Regions from separate parts of the Homo sapiens genome. Here all the other regions are linked to region 3. The links are contacts of gene promoters, found by promoter capture Hi-C in blood cells and fetal thymus (Javierre and others, 2016). All regions are on one chromosome and are shown on one strand. Each heading gives the region's core, a stretch centred on a gene start or on the middle of the fragment in contact. The rest is flanking DNA. Distances are from core to core; before and after follow the strand shown. Region 1 overlaps PEF1 (penta-EF-hand domain containing 1). Region 2 overlaps SPOCD1 (SPOC domain containing 1). Region 3 holds the start of KPNA6 (karyopherin subunit alpha 6). Region 4 overlaps BSDC1 (BSD domain containing 1).

Evidence for each region. Contacts are between HindIII fragments. The CHiCAGO score rates a contact against its expected background, and 5 or more counts as called.
Region 1: a fragment that was not itself captured here is called in contact with the fragment with the promoter of KPNA6 in region 3 in 3 of 17 cell types (naive CD4 T cells, total CD8 T cells and non-activated CD4 T cells); the score reaches 6.7 in naive CD4 T cells.
Region 2: a contact is called between a fragment that was not itself captured here and the fragment with the promoter of KPNA6 in region 3, in 1 of 17 cell types (megakaryocytes). The highest score is 5.1, in megakaryocytes.
Region 4: a fragment that was not itself captured here is called in contact with the fragment with the promoter of KPNA6 in region 3 in 2 of 17 cell types (naive CD4 T cells and non-activated CD4 T cells); the score reaches 6.7 in naive CD4 T cells.

The regions. Positions count from the first base shown.
Region 1 is chr1:31,638,598-31,641,297 of GRCh38, forward strand. All of the region lies in intron 1 of PEF1 (penta-EF-hand domain containing 1), which reads right to left. Among named protein-coding and RNA genes, the nearest start is that of PEF1-AS1, 4.2 kb to the right of the region's middle. The HindIII fragment of the contact is 1,755 bases long and covers 469-2,223 here.
Region 2 is chr1:31,802,436-31,805,135 of GRCh38, forward strand. All of the region lies in intron 2 of SPOCD1 (SPOC domain containing 1), which reads right to left. Among named protein-coding and RNA genes, the nearest start is that of SPOCD1, 12 kb to the right of the region's middle. The HindIII fragment of the contact is 4,282 bases long and covers 1-2,700 here.
Region 3 is chr1:32,106,803-32,109,502 of GRCh38, forward strand. It overlaps KPNA6 (karyopherin subunit alpha 6), which reads left to right and starts at 1,254. Exons shown (of 14, transcript NM_012316.5): 1 at 1,254-1,332. The coding sequence starts at 1,329. RefSeq lists enhancers at 948-1,466, 1,080-1,509, 1,467-1,984. The HindIII fragment of the contact is 1,772 bases long and covers 971-2,700 here.
Region 4 is chr1:32,387,762-32,390,485 of GRCh38, forward strand. All of the region lies in intron 2 of BSDC1 (BSD domain containing 1), which reads right to left. Among named protein-coding and RNA genes, the nearest start is that of BSDC1, 5.3 kb to the right of the region's middle. The HindIII fragment of the contact is 8,104 bases long and covers 1-2,724 here.

The sequences.
Region 1 (2,700 bases), core at 96-2,595, 470 kb before region 3:
ACAAAGCAGGTGCTGCCAGGCAGGTCTCCTGCCCTTCTGGCTATTGTAGTCTGGCAGCAATTAAACCCTTTCCTTTCTGTCCTGCATTTGAAGACCTCCTCTGTAGTTTACAAAGTACTTTCACAAACACAAACACTACAGGCAGAATCTTGCCAATGGCCTCCTAACAGAAAAAAGGAAGATGTTAGTTGCCCTCTTTTACAGATGAAGAAACTAAGCCACGGAGCTGTTAAAGGACTTCATTCAGCACGCATTTTCAGAGTGACAATATTGTACTAGGCTCTGTAGTAGATCTGAGGACACAAGTAAATGAAGTCCTGCCCTTAAGGGGCCCACAGATAATTGTGATACAATCTGATCAGTGCCATCAGAAAAATCTACTTATGTGCTATCAAGGAAGCTTAGATGGAGGAATTTGTGCTGTTTGCAGAATGAATAAATGAACAATGTATGAAGTGGGTCAAGGAAAGCTTCCTGGAGGAAGTGGCAGTGATATTGGAAATGGTCCTTGAAGGATGCATAGACATTTTCCAAAAGGCAGGCAGGGAAGGACACTCCAGACAGAAGAGAGAAGAAAGACAAACGCACAGACTTAAGAGTGAGCATAGTGCATTCAGGGAATGAGTTAAACCGCAGAGCCAAGAATGCAGTGTGAACCCAGAAAGGCAGGCCCTCTATACACTCGTTGACCAAGCACCTCTCCCCCTGCATTTCAGTTAGCCGTGAGGTATCAGTGTCTAAGAGTAGTTTCTGTCTAGCATCTCCCCCACCCAACAGTAAGCTCCCCAGGGGCAGACACTGCGCCTCACTCATCATGGCACCCCAGGGCCCAGCACAGTGCCTGGCACCTGCAAGCCTCCACAAATATTTGGACAAATGAACACCACTCTAAAGAGTTTTGTTGGGGCTTTATGCCGGAGAAAACAGAGCACTATAGAAGGGTTTCCAATAGGAGAGGAACGTGATGAGAACCTTGTTTAGAGAAGTAACCAGCGGCGGTGTGGAGGATGAGCCAGTGAGGGAGGCAGTAGCCCAGGTGCTGGGCAGGCAGGGCATGAACCAGACAGCACACTTGGGGATGAAGAGAACGGAATGGATTCTGAAGCTATTTCAGAGATAGACCAGACATGACTTGGTGACTAATTAGATTAGGAAAGAGATGGAGGAGGAGTGAGGAAAGTGTTCAGAATGACTCGGGTTTCTAGCTTTTGCACAAGATGAAGGAGGTGGAGCCAACTGAGACAGAATGCAGGCTGCACAGGAAGTTTGGGGAAGAAGATGAGGTGGTCCCCACCTCACAGAGGGTCACCCAGTGTCACTGAGTTGTTAGCAAAGGTCTGAACCAGAAATGAAAAACAGCATCCCTGACTCCACGTTCTTTTACACTACTCCATGCTCCCAGCCCTTTTTAGAGTTTTTCCAAGAGTTATTTCATACTGATAAACAGGATTGTGAAGGCAGGTGGAGGGGAAGGACAGGAAGAGTTCAGTAACTGCAGCTTCTGAAGCAACACAGAAAAACTATCTCTAGGGCTCTGGCTGATTGCAAATAAGCTACATCTGATGCCCTGGGGGGACTGGGGGCAACAAACATTTACTGAGGCTCTGCTAGGTGCTTCCAGTTCAACCAGCTCTCACTAATCCTCAGTCCTGTGAGGTAAACAGTGTCATCTCCATTTTGCAGATGAGAAAATTAAGGGGCAGAGAGTTTAATAACATGCCTGAGATCATGCAGCTAGAATGGGCAAGTTGGGATTCAAGTCAGGGTCTGCATGACTCTACACTACCCCCTTCTGTTTGTTCACTCAATAAATGAGTGAGTGCCTAGCATGTGTCTGTGTGAGGGACTGTGCTAAATGTCTTTGTCAAATATAATGAATTTCTACTGTGGACAGAGGTAGAGGGGAAGGCTGGATTGGGTGATCTCTCAGAGCCTTCAAGCCCAGAAATCAGGGACTCTTAGAAAAATCTCATTCTTTTTCGTCCCAGCACCTAGAGTCACTTTGAGAGCCAAGCCACATTTTGGAAGACACCCCAAAGACTCTTCAGTTCAACCTCTCAGTTAATAATGGAATCTCTGCAGAACCACCTGGAATCTCTACCTGCACTTGCGCAAGCAGTAGGGAGCTTACCTCCTCCCAAATAACCACCTCAGAAAGTCCGGTATTTTTTTTTTCTTTCCAGTTCTGAGGACTCAAGTCTTCTAACCTCAAGACCCCTGTGAAGCTTAAAGGTATCAACGGCTGTTCCAAGCTGAGCCCTGATGACGAATGGAGGAGGGAGCATTGCAAAGACAAGTTTGTACCCCAGAGCTACCCTTCAAGTGCACAGGAGGAGGTGGGAAGCCCAAACTAAGGGGTTAAACAATCACAGGAAGACAAGAGGAACAGTTCAAGCATTCACCAGCAGAGCCACTTGAAATAGGAGAGAAGCACGCAACCAATAAACAATGAGCCAAGAACCATCCCCAGACTTCAATTACCTCTGTGCTCACACTTTCAAATCTTTCCAGCTTCATCACTCCTGAGCTACAGACCCACATATCCAGCAGCCTACTGGACCTTCCCTCCAAACCCATGCCTCCCTGTGTTCTCATCTCAGTGAATGGAGCTCCGTTCTGCTTAATCATCCAAACCTAAGGCCAAGTTTTCTCAAATCTACCTCCCAAGTGCTTCTCAAATCTCCTCTACCAGGTCACAGT
Region 2 (2,700 bases), core at 130-2,629, 300 kb before region 3:
GCAGAGCTAGTATTAGAACCTAGCTCTGTCTGACTCCAAAGCCCAAGCACTTAGCTGCGGGGCTATGTGGAGACATGGAAAGATTCATGGAAAGATGTCAAGAAGTATTATTGGGAGAAAAAGAAAAAATAGGTTACAGAACAATATCTGTTGCATAAGCCCATTTATGTAAATATATATTTACAGATACATAATAGAGGTTATCTCTGGGGAATGAAATTCCAGGGAGACTTTCACTTTCTACTTGTAGGAACTTGGGTATTCATGTTATTCAAAACGAGCGTGTATTTCTTTTACAACCGGAAACATGTTTTTTTATTAAAAACAAGTTCAGAACAATACGTGTGGTGTGCTACCATTCGCGTTACAGACAGAACGAATTTTAAAATTTGTATTTGCTGGAATACACATAAAATATCACAGGAAGTATCTGCAAGAACCTATCTAACCCAGGCTGCCAGTAGGGAAGCAACTGGGTGCCGGGAAAGATGAGTTTCACTTTTTTTGTTTTTTTGAACCATGGAAATGAATCAGCCTTTCAAAAAAGTAAACTGAGAAAGAGGCAGAAAAAAAAAAAACAAAGAAAACAGGGGTGTGGGAAGAATATCAAGACCAGCCCTTCACAGTTCAAAGCCTTTTGGCTGGCCCGTCTCAGGGGTCCTAACGTCCATGTTATGAGGCTCCAAAACAACAGGCAGGAGAATGAGATGAGCGAAGCCTTTCAACACTGGACTATCAGACCAGAATACAAACTATGTATGTATAATATGTTTAAAGAAATAAAAGAAGGAGACGAACACATGAGTGAAGGACAAAAAAACTACAAAAAACAACCGGGCAGATTTGATCGGGAACCAAACACGACTTCTGGGAATGAAAAATATAACGATCTTAATTAAAATTTAAAAACTCAATATATAGATTTAATAGCATATTAGATGCAGCTGAAACAAATTAGCTAACTGGACAACACATTTAAATAAATTAAATGTGTTGCACTTTGTGAACACTGTGAAGCACTAAGAGACACATCACGCCTGTAATCTCAGCACTTTGGGAGGCCGAGACAGGAGGATCGCTTGAGGCCAGAAGTTTGAGAGCAGCCTGGGAAACATAGCGAGACCCTGTCTCTACAAAAACAAGAAAAAAAAAAAAAATAGCCAGGCATGGTGGTGTGTACCTGTAGTCCCAACTACTCAGGAGGCTGAGGCGGCAGAATTGTTTGAGCCGGAGAAGTCAAGGCTGCAGTGAGCTATGATCACACCACTGTACTCTAGCCTGGGTGACACAGCAAGACACTGTCTCAAAATAAAGGAAAGGAAAGGAGAGGAGAAGAAAAGAAAGGAGAAGAAAGGAAAGGAAAGGGAAAGGAAAGGAAAGGAGAAGAAGGAGGAGGAGGAGGGAAAGAAAGAAGAAAGAAAGGTAGGAAGAAAGAAGGAAGGAAGGAAGAAAGGAAGGAAGGAAGGGTGAAAATGATTAATCTAAAGTTCCAGAAGGAGAGAGGAAAGAGAATGGGTAGAAGCAGTGTTTAAAGAAATAGGGCTAAGAATTTTTCAAAATTGATAAAAGACAAAAATTTACAGATTCAAAAAGCTCAGTGAATCTCAAACAGAATAAATAAAAGGAAATTCATACCTAGACACATCAACACTCATGATAAGGAGATCCTTACACGCATAAAGAGAAAAAATAATAGCTAACACTTGACTAGCACTTAAAATGTGCTACATCTGTGGCAAGTGCTTTACATATTAGTTAATTTAATCCTCACCATAATCTTATGAGGTACTGGTACTGTTATCTCCCCCATTTTACAAAAGAGGAAACTAAGGCACATAGAGGCACAGGGAGGTTAATCAGCTTGCCCAATGTCACACAGCTAGAAAACCAAAGAGCTGGGATTTAAATCCAGACAGTCTGATTCCAGAGGCCATAACTTCAACTACTATTCTATGATCCCATTCACCAAAATACCTTTCATCTATAAAGGAATGGCAATTAGACTAACAGCTACTTTCTCAATAGTAATAATGAAAAGCAAAACATAAAAAAATAATATTTTCAATGTGCTTAAAGAAAATAACTATCAATTGTGGACCCAGACAAAATACTTTTCAAGAATAAGGAAGAAATAAAGATACTGTAGAGAAAAATCAAGAGAGCTGTTATTTTTCTTGATAATTTTGCTTTGCTCAATAAACAAAATGCTAAAAGATAAACCTGAGGCAGAAGGAAGGAAAAACAATCCCAGATAGATAAGATGAAAGGAAGAATTTTGAGCAAAGAAAATGATGAAGATGTTGTTAAATCTAAATAAACATTGATTGTATGAAACTATAATAACAGTGTGTAATTTGGGGATTTTTTAAAAAAAAAGATAGGACTAATTTACTGGATAACAACAACACACAAATTGGAAAGGTACGCGCTTGGAATTAGAGCATTCCAAGATCCCTATATCATTTTGGAGTAAGACAAAGATTGTAACTACCTTTATACTTTGATAAGTTAGTTATTTGTGCTCAAATTTCTTTTTTCTTTCTTTCTTTCTTTTTTTTTTTTTTGAGATGGAGTCTCGCTCTGTCACCGAGGCTGGAATGCAGTGGCATGATCTTGGCTCACTGCAACCTCCACTTCCCGGGTTCAAGCGATTCTCCTGCCTAGGCTTTCTGAGTAGCTGGGACTACAGGCGCCCGCCAC
Region 3 (2,700 bases), core at 4-2,503:
CTAATTTTTTTCTTTTAATTTATTTTTTGTGGAGATGGGGTCTCACTGTGTTGCCCAGTCTGGTCTTGAGCTCCTGGCCTCAAGTGATTCTCTGGCCTCAGCTTCCCAAAGTGTTAGGATTATAGACAAGCGTGAACCACCACACCCAGCCCTATTTTTCTATTTCTCATCTCCCAATAAGATTGCAACCTCAACTAGGGCTACCTACGTAGGCCTAATCAGAAAACCTGAGTTTAGTCTTACTTCTTTGTTTCCTTCTCTCCATAGCCTCATTGAGCAAGGCACTTCCCCTCTCTAGATGATTCGTTGTTCATATTCAGCCCAAGGTCTATGATTGCTGTTTTTGTTTTTAGAGACGGAGTTTTGCTCTTGTCTCCCAGGCTGGAATGCAGTGGCACAATCTCGGCTCACTGCAACCTCTGCCTCCCGGGTTAAAGCAATTCTCCTGCCTCAGCCTCCCAAGTAGATTACAGGCATGCGCCACCACACCCAGCTAATTTTTGTATTTTTAGTAGAGACCATGGGCAGGCTGGTCTCGAACTCCTGATCTCAGGTGATCCGCCCGCCTCGGCCTACCCAAAGTGCTGGGATTACAGGCGTGAGCCACAGCGCCCAGCCGATTGGTTTCAACTATTAGAAGAAGGGATAAACTGGCCCGGAGCGGTGGCTCAAGCCTGTAATCCCAGCACTTTGGGGGCGGGCGGATCACCTGAGGTAAGGAGTTCAAGACCAGCCTAGCCAACATGGTTGAAACACCGTCTCTAGTAAAAATACAAAAATTAGCCAGGCGTGGTGGCAGGCGCCTGTAATCCCAGCTACTCGGGGGGCCGAGGCAGGAGAATCGCTTGAACTCGGGAGGCAGAGTGTGCAGTGAGCCGAGATCGCGCCATCGCACTCCAGCCTGGGGGGACAAGAGCGAGACTGCGTCTCAAAAAAAAAAAAAAAAAAAAAAAAAAAAAAAGGAGGGATAAGCTTCTGGGAGAAAAAGTTCCGGGTAAAGAAATCTCACTATAAAAAAGAAATAGTAGCAGAAACAGCTGGGAACTCCTAGACACACTTAACTTTCTTAGGTATCCCTTCCAGTCTCCTCCCAACCACTCCTTTCCTATTTCATTTCCACTCCCCACCTTTAGTAGCTGCGGTCTCTTTAAGTGCGCACTTTCGGTGTAATGATAGGCGATTGGGCCAATAAAGCGTTTCGTCCTGGAGTTAACTGGTTTGTCCCTTTCGGGCTGCCGTCCTACAGATCCGCCATATTGTCTACTGAAAGCTGCCGCTGAAGCTGCCGCCGTTGCCTCCGCCGCCAAGAGTGAGCGAGCGGACCCGCGATGGGTGAGTGAGGAAACCACGCAGTAGGGTTCTTGGGCTCAGGGAGTGTCGGGGCCTGGGATTTGGCGAGAGCCTGTCTCCGGTCTGCGGAAGATGTCTGCATCCCCTCTAGCTAGGTCTGAGGGGAAAAGTCAGGCCGGGAGTGCCCCTCTTGCCAGTTTTGGGCCGAGCTAGGGCCCGTGCTGGAAGCAGTCCTTTGGTGCTGGTTTCGGGGACACCTTGGCACGCCTGGAGCCCCCCACATGGTGGCCTCGGGCAGGAGCCCACGTGTTCCTGGGAGGTAGAAAGGGGCCTACTCTCTGTCCTGCGCCCAGACTGGGGCTGGGGGACGGGCTCCCGGCGGCAGGCCTGGGCGGCGCTAAGGTAGCTTTCTCCTGGGTTGTGTTTGGCCAACGCGTGTCTTGACTAGATTCAGTGGCTCCCCTGAACTCAGGGAAGTCCTACCTACGTAGCGAGGTGGAGTCCTCTAGTGAGGGGACGTCAGGCGAGCCAGCACTAGGCCGGTAAGCATGGGCAGCCAGGCCGAGGGCAGCTTGCGCCGCTGAAGGCCGGGAGAACGGAATCAAGGCGGAAATAGTGTGGTTCGGTTGGGCTCAGAGTGGCATCGCTTGTGATGGTAGAACACCAAAGGCCAAGTCCTCTTGGCCATCTTTAGGTTGAGGACTTTAGGTTTCTGGGCTGGCCCTGGTAAGGAGAAAAGGAGCGACCTGTTGATCTTTCTGAGGGGACTCCGGCTGGCAAGGCCTCTGTTCAGAGAGAATACCATGGCGAAGTCTTTGGATTTAGAGACAGAACCAACAGTGGTAATTCCTCTAAAGCAGTAAAAATTGTGAAATTTGCTAAGCTCTTTCTACGTACGGGCATTGTTCTGATTGCTTTACATGTCTTGTTTTACTTAATTTGTACAACCTAAGGAAATAGATGCTACCATTGCCATTTTACAGATGTGGAAGCTGAGCTTTAGAGAGGTAAAGTAACTTACCCAAGGTCATGCAGTGGCTAAGCCAGGGTGAACACTCCCAAGCCTAGTTTGTAACTGCTGTTTGTTGTTGTTGTTGATAGAGTCTTGCTCTGTCGCCCAGGCTGGAGTGCAGTGACGCGATCTCGGCTCACTGCAACCTCCTGCCTCCCGGGTTCAAGCGATTCTCCTGCCTCAGCCTCCCGAGTAGCTGGGATTACAGGCACCCACCACCACGCCCGGCTGATTTTTGTGTGTTTTTGGTAGAGACAGGGTTTCGTCATGTTGGCCAGGCTGGTCTCGAACCCCTGACCTCAAGTGATTCGCCTGCCTCGGCCTCCCAAAGTGCTGGGATTACAGGTGTGAGCCACTGCGTCCAGCCTGTTTTTTTGTTTTGTTTTTTTTTTTAAATG
Region 4 (2,724 bases), core at 54-2,553, 280 kb after region 3:
TTACTAATTGTATTAGTAACAGCAATAGCTTGGAAAGCTATTTTATGAGTAATTCTTAACAATTTAATATCAGTAAAAAGGCATGTGATTTTTTACATTCAACAAAGGAGGAAGCGGTCAAGAGAAAGACTAGATCAGATTCTCTTGGAGGCCTTCTTGGTTCTACCATCCCGAGGTTCTATTCATATACAAAGCTCCTTTGGGCAGAATGCATATTTGCTCCTGCTAAACCAATCTGTTTCTCAGCCTGCACCCAGACCTCACTTGAGAAAGCAGACCCTCAGCTCACTTCTAGGTCTTGCCCTGTCTTGCTTCAGACTCACCAACTCTAGGATGCTTCCTGGAGTATCTCAGTGGCCACTCCCCCTGCAAGCCCTTTCATCTTACACGGGGATAATCACCTGCATTTTTTAAAGCATGTTTTTGAGCGCTCCTGTGGTTTGTTCTTCTGGGAAGGGCCTGCCCACTTTTCATTAGCTTGGGAAGTTTCTGAATGGCACAGTCTATCAGCTACAGGCTTCTCTAGGGGTGGTAATCATGCCTCCATATCAACTCAGGACTCCTTAATTGGGGGTGGAGGAGGTCATTTACTTATTTACTTTTATTAAAATTTTAAAAAATATTTCACAGCACCATGAAATTGTGCCCTGGGTCATTTACCGATTCACTCTTTCTATCCACACTGCCACCATCTTAGTCCAGGCCAACTTATTCTTTCACCTGGATTCCTCCCAGGTTGTCTCAGCCACCTTTACTTCATTCTCCTTATGACACCCAGTGGGTGCTTTGTCTGTCAGGGCAGACCGTGCTGCTTTACACTCTTTAAGTTTACACACTATCCTAAGAGCAAATTGAAAATCCACCTTTACTTACAAAGCCTATATAACTTGGCCTCTGGCAGACTGGTATCCCCTACCACTGTGCCGTTCACTGAGCTCCAGCTGGCCTTCCTCAAGTTTCTAAAATGCCCTAGCATCTGTCCTGCCTCAGAGTATCTGAACACATTGTTTCCTCTCCCTGATACAGAGTTCTAACTCTTCAAAAAAACCAAGTCTGTAAACACGATGAAGGAACCCTCTTATCTGGAAAACTCCTGTTCATCCTCAACGTCTATGCTTCATTTCCCTAGAGGGGCTTCCTGCTGCCTCTTCAGGCTCAGCTGGCTCTCCCTGCTTTATCTCTTCTTCTTTTTTTTCTTTTTTTTTTTTTTTGAGATGGAGTTTCGCTCTGTTACCCAGGCTGGAGTGCAGTGGCGCGATCTCTGCTCACTGCAACCTCTGCCTCCCGGGTTCATGCCATTCTCCTGCCTCAGCCTCCCGAGTAGCTGGGACTACAGGCGCCCGCCACCAAGCCCAGCTAATTTTTTGTATTTTTAGTAGAGACGGGATTTCACTGTGTTAGCCAGGATGGTCTCGATCTCCTGACCTCATGATTCGCCCACCTTGGCCTCCCAATTTATCTCTTTTCTAACACTGAACATAGTTTAGACTTCAGATGACCTGTTCAATGTCTGTCTTCCTGGATAAACTGTGAGTTGTGTGAACACAGGTCCTATGTGTTTTGTTCCCTGATGGTTCCCCAGTATCTGACACAGAGCATACAGTAGGTACTCAAAAAATGTTTGCTTGTTAAATTTACATGGACCATTGAAATTTCAATTATGTAACCACTTGTGTGACTAAACAGTTGTCTTCCCGCTAGACTGTGAGCTCTGAGCAGACAAACATGAACATACGTTGCCCTCAAGCAGGTCACAGTCTACTGGGGAAAATGGTCCCATGATAGTGCTGATGTGCAAGGGCAGAGCAGTAGCTGCTGTACTATGGGGAGGTTGGGAAGATGTGGTGACCAGAAGCCTGGAATGGGCCCTTAAAGAATGAACAGGAGTTGGTTAAGAAGTATTGATGTGGGCCAGGTGCAGTGGCTGATGCCTGTAATCCCAGCACTTTGGGAAGCCGAGGCAGGAGGATTGCTTGAGCCCAGGAATTTGAGACCAGTTTGGACACTATGGCAAAACCGTCTCCACACACACACACACACACACACACACAAATACAAAAAATTAGCCAGAAGTGGTGGTACACGCCTATAGTCCCAGCTACCCAGGAGGCTGAGGTGGGAGAATCACCTGAGCCTGGGTGGTTGAGGCTGCAGTGGGCTGTGATCATGCCACTGCACTCCAGTCTGGGTAACAGAGTGAGACCCTGTCTCAAAAAAAAAAAAAAAAAAGAACAGGAGTCAGCTAAGAAGTGTTGACATGGGTTTAGTGACGTCTACAAGCATTACAGTCCTGATGGACATAAAATGTGAAGCAAGAGTGGTGAGGGATAAAGCTGGAGAGGTTGCCAAGGGCAACCAGGGAGAGCCTGGTCAGCCCTATGGATGATGGGGAGCCACCAAAGGTTTGAAGTGGGTGGGACATGAGATTTGCCTTTTCACTAAATTACTCCAGTGACTGGAATGGAGGAAAGGTCCAGAGGCGAGAAGATTAGAAGAGGAAGAAGGAAGACCAGTCAGGAGGCTGCTGCAATAATCCAGGAAAGAAAATAGAAAAATGTGAGTAAGGACAATGCTAGTAAAGATGGAGAGGATGAGACTGGTTCAAGATACAGGAGATGGAAGAAGGTGGATTTGGTGACTGAACAGGTATGTTGACTGAGGGCTAGAAAAGAATCATGGAAGCACCACAGGCTGCTAAAATAGGTGACTGCGTAGATGCAGTAC